Linked DNA regions of Homo sapiens: region 2 is linked to region 1. Evidence: promoter capture Hi-C in human tissues and cell types (Jung and others, 2019). All regions are on one chromosome and are shown on one strand. The core of a region is centred on a gene start or on the middle of the fragment in contact, and the rest is flanking DNA. Distances in the headings are between cores, read along the strand shown.

Region 1 (6,397 bases), core at 1,761-4,260:
ACTCCTGACCTCAGATGATCCGCCCACCTTGGCCTCCCGAAGTGTTGGGATTACAGGCGTAAGCCACTGCGCCCAGTCTTGTTTTTTTTTTCGTTGTTGCTGGTTTTTTTTGTTTTTTGTTTTTTTTTTTTTTTTTTTATCAGACAGAGTCTCTCTCTGTTGCCCAGGCTGGAGTGATGTGGTGTGATTTTGGCTCACTGCAACCTCCACCTGCCGGGTTCAAGCAATTCTCCTGCCTCAGCCTCCTGAGTAGCTGGGATTACAGGCGCCCGCCACCATGCCCGGCTAATTTTTTGTATTTTTAGTAGAGACAGGGTTTCACCATCTTGGCCAGGCTGGTCTTGAACTCCTGACCTCGTGATCCACCCACCTTGGCCTCCCAAAGTGCCGGGATTAGAGGCGTGAGCCACCGCGCCTGGCCGCCTTGTTTTTTTTTTTGAGATGGAGTCTTGCTCTGTCCTCCAGGCTGGAGTGCAACGGTGCGATCTTGGCTCACTGCAACCTCTGCCCCCTGGGTTCAAGAGATTCTCCTGCCTCAGCCTCCTGAGATTACAGGCACCCACCACCATGCCCGGCTAACTTTTGTATTTTTAGTAGAGACGGGGTTTCACCATGTTGGTCAGGCTGGTCTCGAACTCCTGACCTCAGGTGATCCACCTGCCTCGGCCTCCCAAAGTGCTGGGATTACAGGCGTGAGCCACTGCGCCCGGCTCCTTGTTTGTTTTTAATGAAAGGTTTTAGTTGATTCTTAGTCAGTGTGATTTTTTTTTTTTTTTTTTTGAGACAGGGTCTCGCTCTGTCGCCCAGGCTGAAGTGTAGTGGCGCAATCTTGGCTCACTGCAACCTCAGCCTCCCGGGTTCAAGCGATTCTCCCACCTCAGCCTCCCTAGTAGCTGGGACTACATGTGTGAGCCACTATGCCTGGCTAATTTTTTTGTATTATATAATTAGTAGAGGTAGGGTTTTGCCATGTTGGCCAGGCTAGTCTTGAACTCCTGGCCTCAAGTGATCCACCCACCTCAGCCTCCCAAAGTGCTAGGATTACAGGTGTGAGCCACTGCGCCTGGCCCAGTCAGTATGATTTATTGAGCTCCTACTATATCCTTGCGAAAGCCTCTAGGAACATGGATATTTAGAAATCTGTAAGACCCAATTCCAGCCCCAGGAATTCACAGTACAGTGGGCAGCCACGAGTTAAGGCTAAGAATTGCTGAAGAGCTGTAAAAATAAAGCAAGTTTTCTTGTTTTGGAGAATAATCACAGAATTCGGTTTAAGGATTCTATGTGCTGTTGCAACTCTAGAATTTGTTGTTGTTGTTGTTGTTTGAGGCAGGGTTTCACTCTGTTGTCCAGGCTGGAATGCAGTGGCGTGATCTCAGCTCACTGCAACCTCTACTTCCTGATATCAAACAATCCTCCCACCTCAGCCTCCCAAGCAGCTGGGACTACAGGCATGCACCACCATGCCTGCCTAATTTTTTTTTTTTTTTTTTTTTTTTTGTAGAGACAGAGTTTCACCATGTTGCCCAGGCTGGTCTTGAACTCCTGGGCTCAAGTGATCTGCCCACCTCAGCCTCCCAAAGTGCTGGGATTACAGGCCTGAGCCACTGTGCCCGGCTCATCATTTTTATATGGTAGAGGTTTAAGTCAGGAATTTAGTTAGAAGGGATTAATCAGGAGTCTTCTTTCTGGGCTACCTTTACCTAGCAAACATCCTGTGTTTACTTAGACTAGGGTTCCTCAACCTCAGTAGTACAGACATTTTCAGCAAGATAATTCTTTGTTCTGGTGGTTGTCCTGTGCATTGTGGAATGTTTAGCAGCATCTCTGGCCTCTGCCTGCTAGATGCCAATAGCACCTCTCCCTTCAGATATGACAACCACAAATGTCTCCAGATATTGCCAAATTTCCCCCAGGGAGGGCGGCTAATCATTGCAGGTTGAGAACCACGTACAGCATGTTTATGATAGAAGGGAGAGGACTGTCAGGCAGTTTTGTGTGTGTTTTTAAACAATTAAAGGGCATTGCCAATACTGTGGATTTTAGCTTCTTTGGAAGTTTGATGTGAAAGGAGGCAAAAATCCTTCTTGCACATCAGCTTAAGGTTTTGCCCATATCGTATTCAAACAAAACCACATGGCTGGCACATAGTGGCTCTCAATAAATATATAATAAGTTGAATGCACTATTCAGCACATAGCTAAAGTGGTGGTGCCTCCAGGGAGGGACGTGAAACTTAAAAAGGAAAGACTGGAGTAGCTACTCAGGAGGCTGAGGCGAGAGGACTTGAGCCCAGGAGTTCGAGGCTGCAGTGTGAGCTACGATCCAGCCACGGCACTCCAGCCTGGGCAACAGCGGACGCCCAGACTCAGAATCCATGACAGACTCTGGAGCGAAGGAACAAGTTCAGGGATGTTCCACAATCACGCGATTCCCAGGACAGGAAAGGGGCCGGTGGGGGTCGCAGAGCTCGACCAAATTCTGGGCAGACTACTCATCCGGCGGCAGGAAGAGCGCGGCGCGCACCGGGCCCGCGCGCACCGGCTCGCGCCGCACCCCCGGCCGGAGAAAGTCGCGCTTGTTCTGCGCCAGGCACAGCAGCCGCCCGGGCTCGGTGTCGTGGCCGTCCAGCACTTCCAGCTCCACGGCGAAGGGCGTCCGCACGTCGCGCTTCACCAGCCGCACCAAGGCTTTCTCGGGCTCCAACGCCCACAGCAGCCCCATGGGCTGGAGCCCCGCGAAGCTGCCTCCCAGCGCGGGCGCGCGCTCCAGGTCCAGCTCGTCGCGGGCGTCGGCACGGTAGCGCGCGTGGGCCCGGAAGAGCGCGCCCTCTTCGTCGCGCAGGGACGTGCGCAGCGTGACTGGCTGCTCCGGGGCCAGGCCGCGCACTGCGATGCGCAGCGGCTCGTCCCAGCAGCAGCGGCCCGCGGGCTCCAGGATCAGCGTCGCTGCCATCCCAATCTGGGTAGAACAGGGGCGACCCAGCTCCGCGGAGTCAGTGGGCGGGCCTGGCGGCTTTGCCGAGCGCTGGAAAGTAGTCGAGGGCGGAGCCCTTAACACTACTCCCATTGGTTGGACTTGGGGACAGGCTCCAGGCCGCTGCGTGGGGCGCCTAGAATTTGTGCAAATACACCAGTGTCCCAAATGAAAGAGTATCTGCTGAAATAAGAGTTAATGACCAATCCGGCCGGGGGCGGTGGATCACGCCTGTGATCCTAGAACTTTGGGAGGCCGAGGTGGGTGGATCACACCTGAGGTTAGGAGTTCAAGACCAGCCTGACCAACAGAGTGAAACCTCATCTCTACTGAAAATACAAAATAGCCAGGTGTGGTGGCGCATGCCTGTAATCCCGGCTACTTGGGAGGCTGAGGCAGAAGAATTGCTTGAACCCAGGAGGCAGAGGTTGCATTGAGCCAAGATTGCACCATTGTACTCCAGCCTAGGCAACAAGGGCAAAACTCCGTCTAAAAAAAAAAAAAAAGAGTTAATGACTATTCCTGCAATCCAATGTGGTGAGTGTCGAAATAGAGGCACAAAAACCACTGAGAGCTAAAGGATTGAGAGAGATACAGTCCAAGAATCTAGATTTTGAAAAAGCATCCCAGGTGATTGTACTCAGGTGACCCCTTGGAGAAACATGGTCGTAATCCGTCCTTTACCCCTCAGTCCCTTACCAAGCCTTTTTTCCAGGGCTAATGGTACCTGGAGCAAAGCAGATGTTTAGGGAGGCAGACCTAGCCGAGTTCTGGTCTGACCCTGATCCTTAATATTAATACCTGGTGATCTTTAGCAAGAAACATAACCCTCTAAATTCAGTTTTCTTATCTGAAAAGGCTTATTGTGACCATTAAATGGGCTAATGTGTAAAAACACTACACTGACACACCTGTAGGTTAGTACCCAGTGAAAGTTTTGTTTTGTTTCTTACCTCACAAATCTAATCACTGGCAGAGTCCATTTTGGGTTGTATGCATACAGAGTTCTGGCAGTAAGCAAGTGGCACTCTCAGCCTGTGTAATTGAGGAGAGTTTTATAAAGGTACTATCTACAAAGGCATGGGCAAGATTTAAAAACAAAAACAATGAAACAAGATTCGGTGTAGAACCCTGAATCTGAAGGTTCAAGGGAAGGGGGCAGTCTGATAGGAGTTGTACCTTTTTTAGAAGGAACCTATGGTTTGTGGCAGGAAGGAGGAGACTATAAGTCCCTTGACTCTCCTCTTGTTTTTCAGTATCTTGCTAATGCCTCTCTTTGGCCAAACCCAACCACACAGCTCAACCTAGCTGGGAACATAGCAGGGTGGAGAAGGAAGAAGAGCATATAGTGATGCCCAGCTCAGTAAACATGTATAAACTGAACAAAAAGGTATTAGACTCTATGAAGCAAGTTCACTGTATGCTGGTTACCAACTTGTCTGAGTCCAGTGAGAAAACACATTCATATATTTAATACAACAATTTACATGAACTGGATTTATTACTTACAGATAGGCAGCAAAGAATGACAGAAGCCTAAGAATCATTGGAAACCAGTCCCCCAAGGCTCAGGAATGCTGCCTGGGTGATGGAATCTCATGTGTGTGTGCCCCACTTGCACTGCAGCTGCCCTGAGTTTTGTACTCTGGGGTCATGTGACTGCTGGGTTAAAGCATTGAAAGACATCCTGTTTGTAGGGAGGGGCTGGAATAGAGCCAGGGCTATTCCAGCCAGTCCGTCCCTCTCTCAGGATGTTACATTCCCAGCACGTTCTATGCTTGAGAACTACTAGTGAGAAAGAGGGGAGAACTGAGTCAGTCCAAGGCCAACCAGAGAACTGCCCTGCAGTCCATCCCCAACCCAGATACCTCCTTTAGTAAACCTAGTACATTTCATATGCCCTCCAGACCCCCAGGATCTGGAGGCAGAGGTTTGTCTGATCATATTAATATGGCACCTTGGTCGGGCACGGTGGCTAATGCCTGTAATCCCAGCACTTTGGGAGGCCGAGGGGGGCGGATGACTTGGGGTCAGGAGTTTGAGACCAGCCTGGCCAACATGGTGAAACCCTGTCTCTACTAAAAATACAAAAATTAGCTGAACGTGGCAGCACGCGCCTGTAATCCCAGCTATTCAGAAGGCGGCGGCAGGAGAATTGCTTGAACCCGGGAGGTGGTGATTGCAGTGAGCCGAGATCTCGCCACTGCTCTCCAGCCTGAGCGACAGAGCAAGACTCCCTCTAAAAGAAAAAAAAAAAAAAGCGACACTTGACTGAAACAATCTCGGTGCAACATTGTTAAGCCATGGCCGGAATATATTGCATTAGGCCCAGGAGACTACTATAATAAGCAGGATGATCAGGCTTGCTTGGAGCTGTGGCCTACCCCCAAGTCCTAGTGATCCAGGCAAGAAGTTTTGAGGTCCAAGAAAGATTCTTTAGGTAGCCACTCTGACTGCAACCAGTAGGCCTGCTTCCAGATCCTCTACCTATGTCTCCACCATGCCTGAGGTGTTTATCCAGGTACACCAGGAGGTGTTGGCAGTGGCACACACTCCTCCCAATTAGTCTAAAAAAAAAAAGGGTAGAGGAATTCTGTTGTTTAAAACAACCTGGCCAGGCGCGGTGGCTCATGCCTGTAATCTCAGCACTTTGGGAGGCTGAGGCGGGTGGATCACGAGGTCAGGAGTTTGAGACCAGTCTGGCCAACATGGTGAAACCCCGTCTCTACTAAAAATACAAAAATTAGCCAGGCATGGTGGTGCGTGCCTGTAGTCCCAGCTACTCGGGAGGCTGAGGCAGGAGAATTGCTTGAACCCGGGAGGCAGAGGTTGTGGTGAGCCGAGATCGCACCACTGCATTCCAGCCTGGGTAACAGAGCGAGATTCTGTCTCAAAAATAAAATAAAATAAAATAAATAATAGAACAACCTTCCCAAGGGAGTTGAAGGATGTCCCTGTGCTGCCAAGGCAGTGGCACTGGAAGCAGCAATATCAGGCACAGTTTTCTTATCATTTTTTTCATGAGCACTGACTCCTATATATGGTACCAAAAATTTCATAGAGGACCTAAACCTAGAATCAGCCACGACCTGGCAGGTTCCTAATAAGCATGGTGCATACTTTTAGACTACTGGCCCAATGATGTTTCTTGTACCCAGGGGTGATATGCAGGAGCACCCCCAGCATGCCCAATGTCCAGGATCCCATCATCTGCCAGCTTTCCAGGTATGACATTGTCCATCCCATGTTTGGCTCACTCCCAGATCACCCACAGAGGAAGAGGCAGCTTTTGGATGCACACTGCATCATTTTATTCAGCAACCCAGTCATGGCTATGGAGGATTGGTATTCACCAGCCAATTCTCATTGATGGCATAGTGACATGAGCTCAGTCTCCCCCATACAATCAATATCGTTCACA
Region 2 (6,397 bases), core at 1,131-3,630, 330 kb before region 1:
AGAAGCGTCAGCTCCTGGGCATCATCCATTACTGTCCCTCGGCCATTCCGCATGACGCTGCGCGAGGCCCGGAAGAAGGCCGAGTGGCTGGGCTCACCTGCCTCCTTTGAGCAGGAGAGGCAGCGGGCCCAGAGGCAGGGTGAGGAAGAGGCCGAGTGCCACAGGCAGTTCCGGGCACAGCCTGTGCCTGCACATGTCTACCTGCCCCTCTACCAAGAGATCATGGAGCGCAGCGAGGCCCGAAGGCAGGCAGGGATCCAGAAGAGGAAGGAACTGCTCCTCTCTTCTTTGAAGCCCTTCAGCTTCCTGGAGAAGGAGGAGCAGCTAAAGGAAGCTGCTCGACAGAGAGACTTGGCAGCCACAGCTGAAGCCAAGATCTCCAAGCAGAAGGCCACCAGAAGGATTCCCAAGTCCATTCTGGAGCCAGCCCTTGGGGATAAACTCCAGGGTAAAGACATCCTTGCCACCTTGCTGCCTCCTGCCTCGGGGAACCAATCCCACCATAGGGATTTAGTCAGGGCCCAGGGATCTGCCTGGCTTGGAGATTTGCTGCTTGGGTGGACCCACTAGAGGCTGCACGCTTAGTGCAGGCCATTGGGGAGGGTTAGGTCTGTCTATACAATCAGGACCTGTATGGTGCCAGGAGTGAGAGGTCCCACAGTGTCCCCAAGGCTCGTCCTGTTGACATCTAAGTGAATGCACATGAGGGCCTCTGCACCAGCACAGGTGCAGGAATAGAGAACCAGTGAGACACCTGAGGACCAGCTTGGGCTCATGCCACCACCAGCACACTGCCCTGAGATGCTCCCCCATGGCTCCTTCGTCCTGGTGAGGTAGTGTCAATCGCCGAAATTACCTGGGGGATGATTATTTACACATTTCCAAAAGTATAGCTCCAAATAAGGGGCTCAGGCTTTATTCACTTTTCGGTAGCATGTGCCATGCTCCAGGCACTGTGCCATGGTGAACACACAGACATGGAGTTTGTAGATATGTGAGGAAAACAGATAAAGACAAATACATACAAATGTGGCGAGTTATTTACAAGGATTAAAAGGGGAAGCATGGGAGCATATATCAAAGGGACCTAACCCGGGGATTGGTGAAGCAAGGGAGCAGTTAGGGAAGGTCCCCTGAGAAAGTGGGCCCTGGGGCTGAACTGAAGGAGGGGCGAAGAGGGAGGAGAAGTGGAGCAGGCAGAATGTGGCATGGAGGGGAGAGAAAGCAGAGCATCTGCAAGGGATGGAAAGGTCGAGGGCTGAGAGAAGAGGGAGTGGGAAGGAAGAGGCAGGCATGGGCCAGACATGAGGAGCTTTGCAAGCCACGTTGGCGAGTCTGGACTTCATCCCAAGGGCACAGGGAAGCCACTGAGGGAGTGAGGCAGGGTGGCCCATGATCAGAAATATAGTTCAGAAGGATCCTTCTGATTGCTGTATAGATAATCTGAGAGGGCAGCAAGACTGGAGGGATGTTGAGCCAAGAGGAAGCTATTTCACAATTCAGTAGAGAAATTGTGCAACTGGTTGCAGGGATGAAAAAACGAGGATGGACTGGAGAGAGGTTAAAGAGGAGGAAATGACAGAACTTGTGACTGATGAGAGACACGGAGGAGTCAGTGATGTGGGCAAAGGGCCTGGGCAGCTGGGTGGATGGTAGGGCCTTTCTCTCAGATGGGGAAACCTGGGAGAGGAGCAGGTTACTGGCCCACTTCCTCTGCTTCATCTCTGAAGAAGCAATCATAGAAAGTGCTCAGTAAGTGTAGATGGTCACTGCTTCTGCAGCCTGATTGACACAGGCAGTGGTGTTCTGGATGACATTTATTAACAAGCTCTCCAGAAAAAAAAAAAAGGAAGCTGGTTTGTAATGTTTGTTATTTTCTGTGGCATAATTACTCCTATTCAGGCCATCTGCAGGCATCTCACAGGATGTTAACGTGTCAGAATTCCTGAAAAGTTCCTACTTGCCTCCAGTAACACTTACAGCTAGTGTGTAAAAGAGGGAAAGTTCTCCAACCCTGTAGGTTTCTTGCTTGGTCCTTTCTTACCCATCACCATCCTTTCTCCACAGAAGCTGAGCTCTTCAGGAAAATTCGCATCCAAATGAGAGCCCTGGACATGCTCCAGATGGCCTCTTCCCCTATCGCCTCCTCTAGTAACCGGGCTAACCCACAGCCCCGCACAGCCACCCGAACCCAGCAGGAAAAGCTTGGGTTTCTGCACACTAACTTCAGATTCCAGCCTCGGGTGAATCCTGTGGTCCCTGACTATGAGGGCCTTTACAAGGCCTTCCAGAGAAGAGCAGCCAAAAGAAGAGAAACCCAAGAGGCCACTCGCAACAAGCCCTTCTTGCTGAGGACCGCCAACCTGCGCCACCCTCAGCGGCCCTGTGATGCTGCCACCACCGGAAGGAGGCAGGTGAGAGCCCAGGCAGCTGTGGGAGGGTCAGGGCTGCGGCCTGAAATACAGGGTGGGGCCAGGTCTTCCTGGAAAGCACTTCTCAACAAGGTTTTCCTATCTTTTTTTTAAACACCAGCTCAGTTGTAAGCAGATTCACTTTCCTATAAACTCCAGACCACAGCCCAGCCTGGGCAACAGAGACCCCATCTCTAAAAGAAAAATACAAATATTTGCCACATGTGGTGGTGTGTACCTGTAGTTCCAGCCATTCAGGAGGCTGAGGTGGGAGGACCTTCTGGCTGCAGTGAGCCAAGATGATGCCACTGTACTCCAGCCTAGGCAACAGAGTGAGACCCCATCTAAAAACAACAACAAAAAACAGGCCAGGCGTGGTGGCTCACGCCTTTAATCCCAGCACTTTGAGAGGCCGAGGAGGGCAGATCATCTGAGGTCAGGAGTTCGAGACCAGCACGGCCAACATGGCAAAACCCCATCTCTACTAAAAATACAAAAATTAGCTGGGTGCGGTGGCGGGCACCTGTAATCCCAGCTACTTCAGAGGCTGAGGTAGGAGAATTGCTTGAACCTGGGAGGCGGAGATTGCAGTGAGCTGAGATTGTGCCACCGCAGGCCAGCCTGGACAACAAGAGTGAAAGTTCATCTCAAAAACAGAACACAACAGAAACCATAGGGACACTTCTTTTCCTCCCTTACTGTAGAAGGATTTCACAGAAATAAGTCCAAGCAGGCTTGAGAGGCAAGGAGTTGGGATCAGTTGTTGATGTCTCTATACCAATTCCAAGGAACTCTTCTCATTTGACTAAAAACTTTAGGATTGATATCCAAGTCTTGGCTTGGTTGTGAAACTTGAGATCTCTTTATCCTTGCCTTATTCCCAGGAAAAAAAATGAAGATTCTCATTTTCAGTCCTTCAGTGAAGCTGAATCCTAGTAAAGATAGAAAATGGCTGGGCGCGGTAGTTCACACCTGTAATCCCAGCACTTTGGGAGGCCGACACGGGTGGATCACCTGAGATCAGGAATTCGAGACCAGCCTGACCAACATGGTGAAACCCCGTCTGTACTAAAACTGCAAAAATGTAGCTGGGCATGGTGGCTCACAACCTGTATAGTCCCAGCTACGTGGGAGGCTGAGGCAGGAGAATTGCTTGAACCAGGCAGCTGGAGGTTGCAGTGAGCCGAGATTGCGCCACTGCACTCCAGCCTGGGCAAAAGAGCGAGACGAGACTCTGTCTCAAAAAAAAAAAAAAAAAAAAAAGATAGAAACTAATCACACATGCTGTCCCACCAATACCAACCTTTGTTTCTTCTAGGATTCCCCACAGCCACCAGCTACACCCCTGCCAAGGAGTCGTTCTCTGAGCGGCCTTGCTTCCCTCTCTGCCAACACTCTCCCTGTGCACATCACAGATGCCACCAGGAAGAGGGAATCTGCAGTCAGGTGAGTGGTCAGGCTGCACGAGACCCATGCTCTGATTCTGGCCCCAAATGCTGGAAACCTCCCTGCCAAGGGGCCTCCTTTCCTGTTATCAGAGATACCTCAAGGGGTCAAAGGGAATTTTCTGATCAGGACTGGAACAATTGCGGTTCTCCACACCTGGTGCTTGGAGAACAGCTAGCCATCATTCAGCACATATTCATAGTGGGCTTATTCTGTGCCAGGCACAGTGTTAAGGCTGGAGATCTTAGGGAACCTCCAGTTTATTATCTAGTCTGAAATACAGAAAAGCAAAGAAGCAATGGCCATATTTTTTGAGTAGTGCAATGATGGGGGGTAAAGGGGACTGTGAGGGCACTGGGCAGCCTGGAGCAGGGGGGTCTTGTCTTGTGGAATAGATGTCTAAAGTGAAACTGAAGAACAAGGAAGAGTTCGCCAGACAAAGCCTGGAGAGAAGGAAGGTTCCAGACAGAGAGAACATGGATAAAAGCCCATGGGTGAGAGGAAGGGAGTAGTGAGGAACAAGAATTCAGAGAAGCATGCTAGCAGGTGGCTGAAGTTGCCGCAAATATGAGACATCCATTGCATAGATTTGAGATTCTCTGAGATTCATCTTGGGAAGATGTCAGAGTCTGTTGGGCAGCAAGAGCCTGCTTATTTTTAACTCTTCAACTGACCTGATTCTGTTATGATGTTCTCATTAAGCCAGCCCCCAGCAAGGGTTCTTCCACCAGGCTTCTGAGCTGAAGTAGGCAAGAGAGGTCATGGTGTAACAGCAGCTTAGGCCAGGGAGAGGACTAATGTCTTACTGCCTTCCCATGGGGCATGTAGGGGAGTACTCAGAACCTACTTGGATCGTTAAGCCCCACAGCAGGGATTGTAGAAGAGTATTTACGGTCCAAGGGATACTCCTTTCTTCTTCAGACTTCAGTTAGACCTACTAAATCAGGGCTAATTAATTGCTCAGTATCCTGAGGGCCCAAGAACACAGGCCTCCTGAACAAAGAGGCTGGCCTTCCTATAGAGGACATCCACATCTGCTTTCCAGCCACAGGGAATCTGACATATTAACAGATTAAATTTTCATGTCCTTCTTCCCAGTATGTCCATTTGAATATAAACATCCAAATATAAGAGTCTTGGTTGATTTTCCTTTTGGAAGAACTCAACATATTACTTTGTAGATAACTGAACAAACTAAGTGCTACAAGTTGAACCCAAATAGTCTGCACTGAGGGAGGCTCATTTCCAGTTCTCTCTGAATGTGCAGATTTGTATTCCCAAAGGACCATGAACCCAGACACCTTCCAGCCCACTGTTTCCAGCAGAGTGGTCAAGGCCAGAGGCTTCGGAGTCAGAGGTCCTGGTCCAATAGGGGCTTTTCCACTGGCATGCTGGGTAGCTTTGAGCAAGGGGCTTACCTCCTTTGAGCCTCAATCACCTCCCCTATAAAAAGGGAATTTAGTATTTACCTCATAAGGCAGTTATGAGGACAATGTGAAATGTAATGGTACTTGGTTCATAATAAGGAGCTCAGTAAATGGTAGCTATTAGTATTATTTTGTATCCAGATAGGCGAAGACCTATTGAATGTTGGACTGTTTAAGTAAGGATATATATATTTTTTTTCGAGACAGAGTCTTGCTCTGTCGCCCATGCTGGAGTGCAATGGCGCAATCTCAGCTCACTGCAACCTCTGCCTCCCGGGTTTAGTGATTCTCCTGCCTCAGCCTCCCAAGTAGCTGGGATTACCGGCACGTGCCACTACACCCAGCTAATTTTTTTTGTAGTTTTGGTAGAGACAGGGTTTCACCATGTTGACCAGGCTGGTCTCGAACTCCTGACCTTGTGATCAGCCCGCCTCAGCCTCCCAAAGTGCTGAGATTACAGCCATGAGCCACCGTGCCCGACCTAAGTAAGGATATTTTAACTGACGTTTCTCCAGTTCAGTAAATGCACTTCTAGGGTAGGAACTCACTGTGTCCCTAGTGCTGGAAAGGCTTCATCTGCCAGTGCATTTAATCCTAGAATTTTATTATTTTTAAAAATGGCAGTTGAGGTAAATTACATGCCCCATTCATTAAAAACACCAACTTACTTTCCAGAAAAGGTTACTAAGATTGCTTTATTTTATTTATTTATTTATTATTATTTTTTGAGACGGAGTCTCTCACTGTCGCCCAGGCTGGAGTGCAGTGGCACGATCTCGGCTCACTGCAAGCTCCGCCTCCCAGGTTCATGCCATTCTCCTGCCTCAGCCTCCCGAGTAGCTGGGACTACAGGCGCCCACCACCGCACCCGGCTAATTTTTTGTATTTTTAGTAGAGATGGGGTTTCACAGTGTTAGCCAGGATAGTCTCGATCTCCTGACCTTGTGATCCGCCCGCCTCGGCCTCCCAAAGTGCTGGGATTACAGGCATGAGCCACCATGCCCGGCTATTTTATTTTATTTTATTATTATTATTATTTTTGAGACGGAATTTGATCTGTCGCCCAGGCTGGAGTGCAGCAGTGCGATCTTGGCTTATTGCAACCTCTGCCTC

What was found. Contacts are between HindIII fragments. The study calls those that stand out against the background at their distance.
Region 2: a fragment that was not itself captured here is called in contact with the fragment with the promoter of ACOT6 in region 1 in 2 of the 25 tissues and cell types used here (IMR-90 fibroblasts and spleen).

The regions. Positions count from the first base shown.
Region 1 is chr14:73,609,130-73,615,526 of GRCh38, reverse strand. It overlaps ACOT6 (acyl-CoA thioesterase 6), which reads right to left and starts at 3,010. Exons shown (of 3, transcript NM_001365788.1): 1 at 2,495-3,010. The coding sequence starts at 2,955. It also overlaps a transcript of HEATR4 not described here. RefSeq lists a silencer at 1,430-1,674 and enhancers at 2,750-2,799, 2,333-2,832, 2,850-2,899. The HindIII fragment of the contact is 22,654 bases long and covers 1-6,397 here.
Region 2 is chr14:73,938,386-73,944,782 of GRCh38, reverse strand. FAM161B (FAM161 centrosomal protein B) reads left to right here. Exons shown (of 9, transcript NM_152445.3): 3 at 1-448; 4 at 2,068-2,414; 5 at 3,730-3,857. Among named protein-coding and RNA genes, the nearest start is that of FAM161B, 8.5 kb to the left of the region's middle. The HindIII fragment of the contact is 9,683 bases long and covers 1-6,397 here.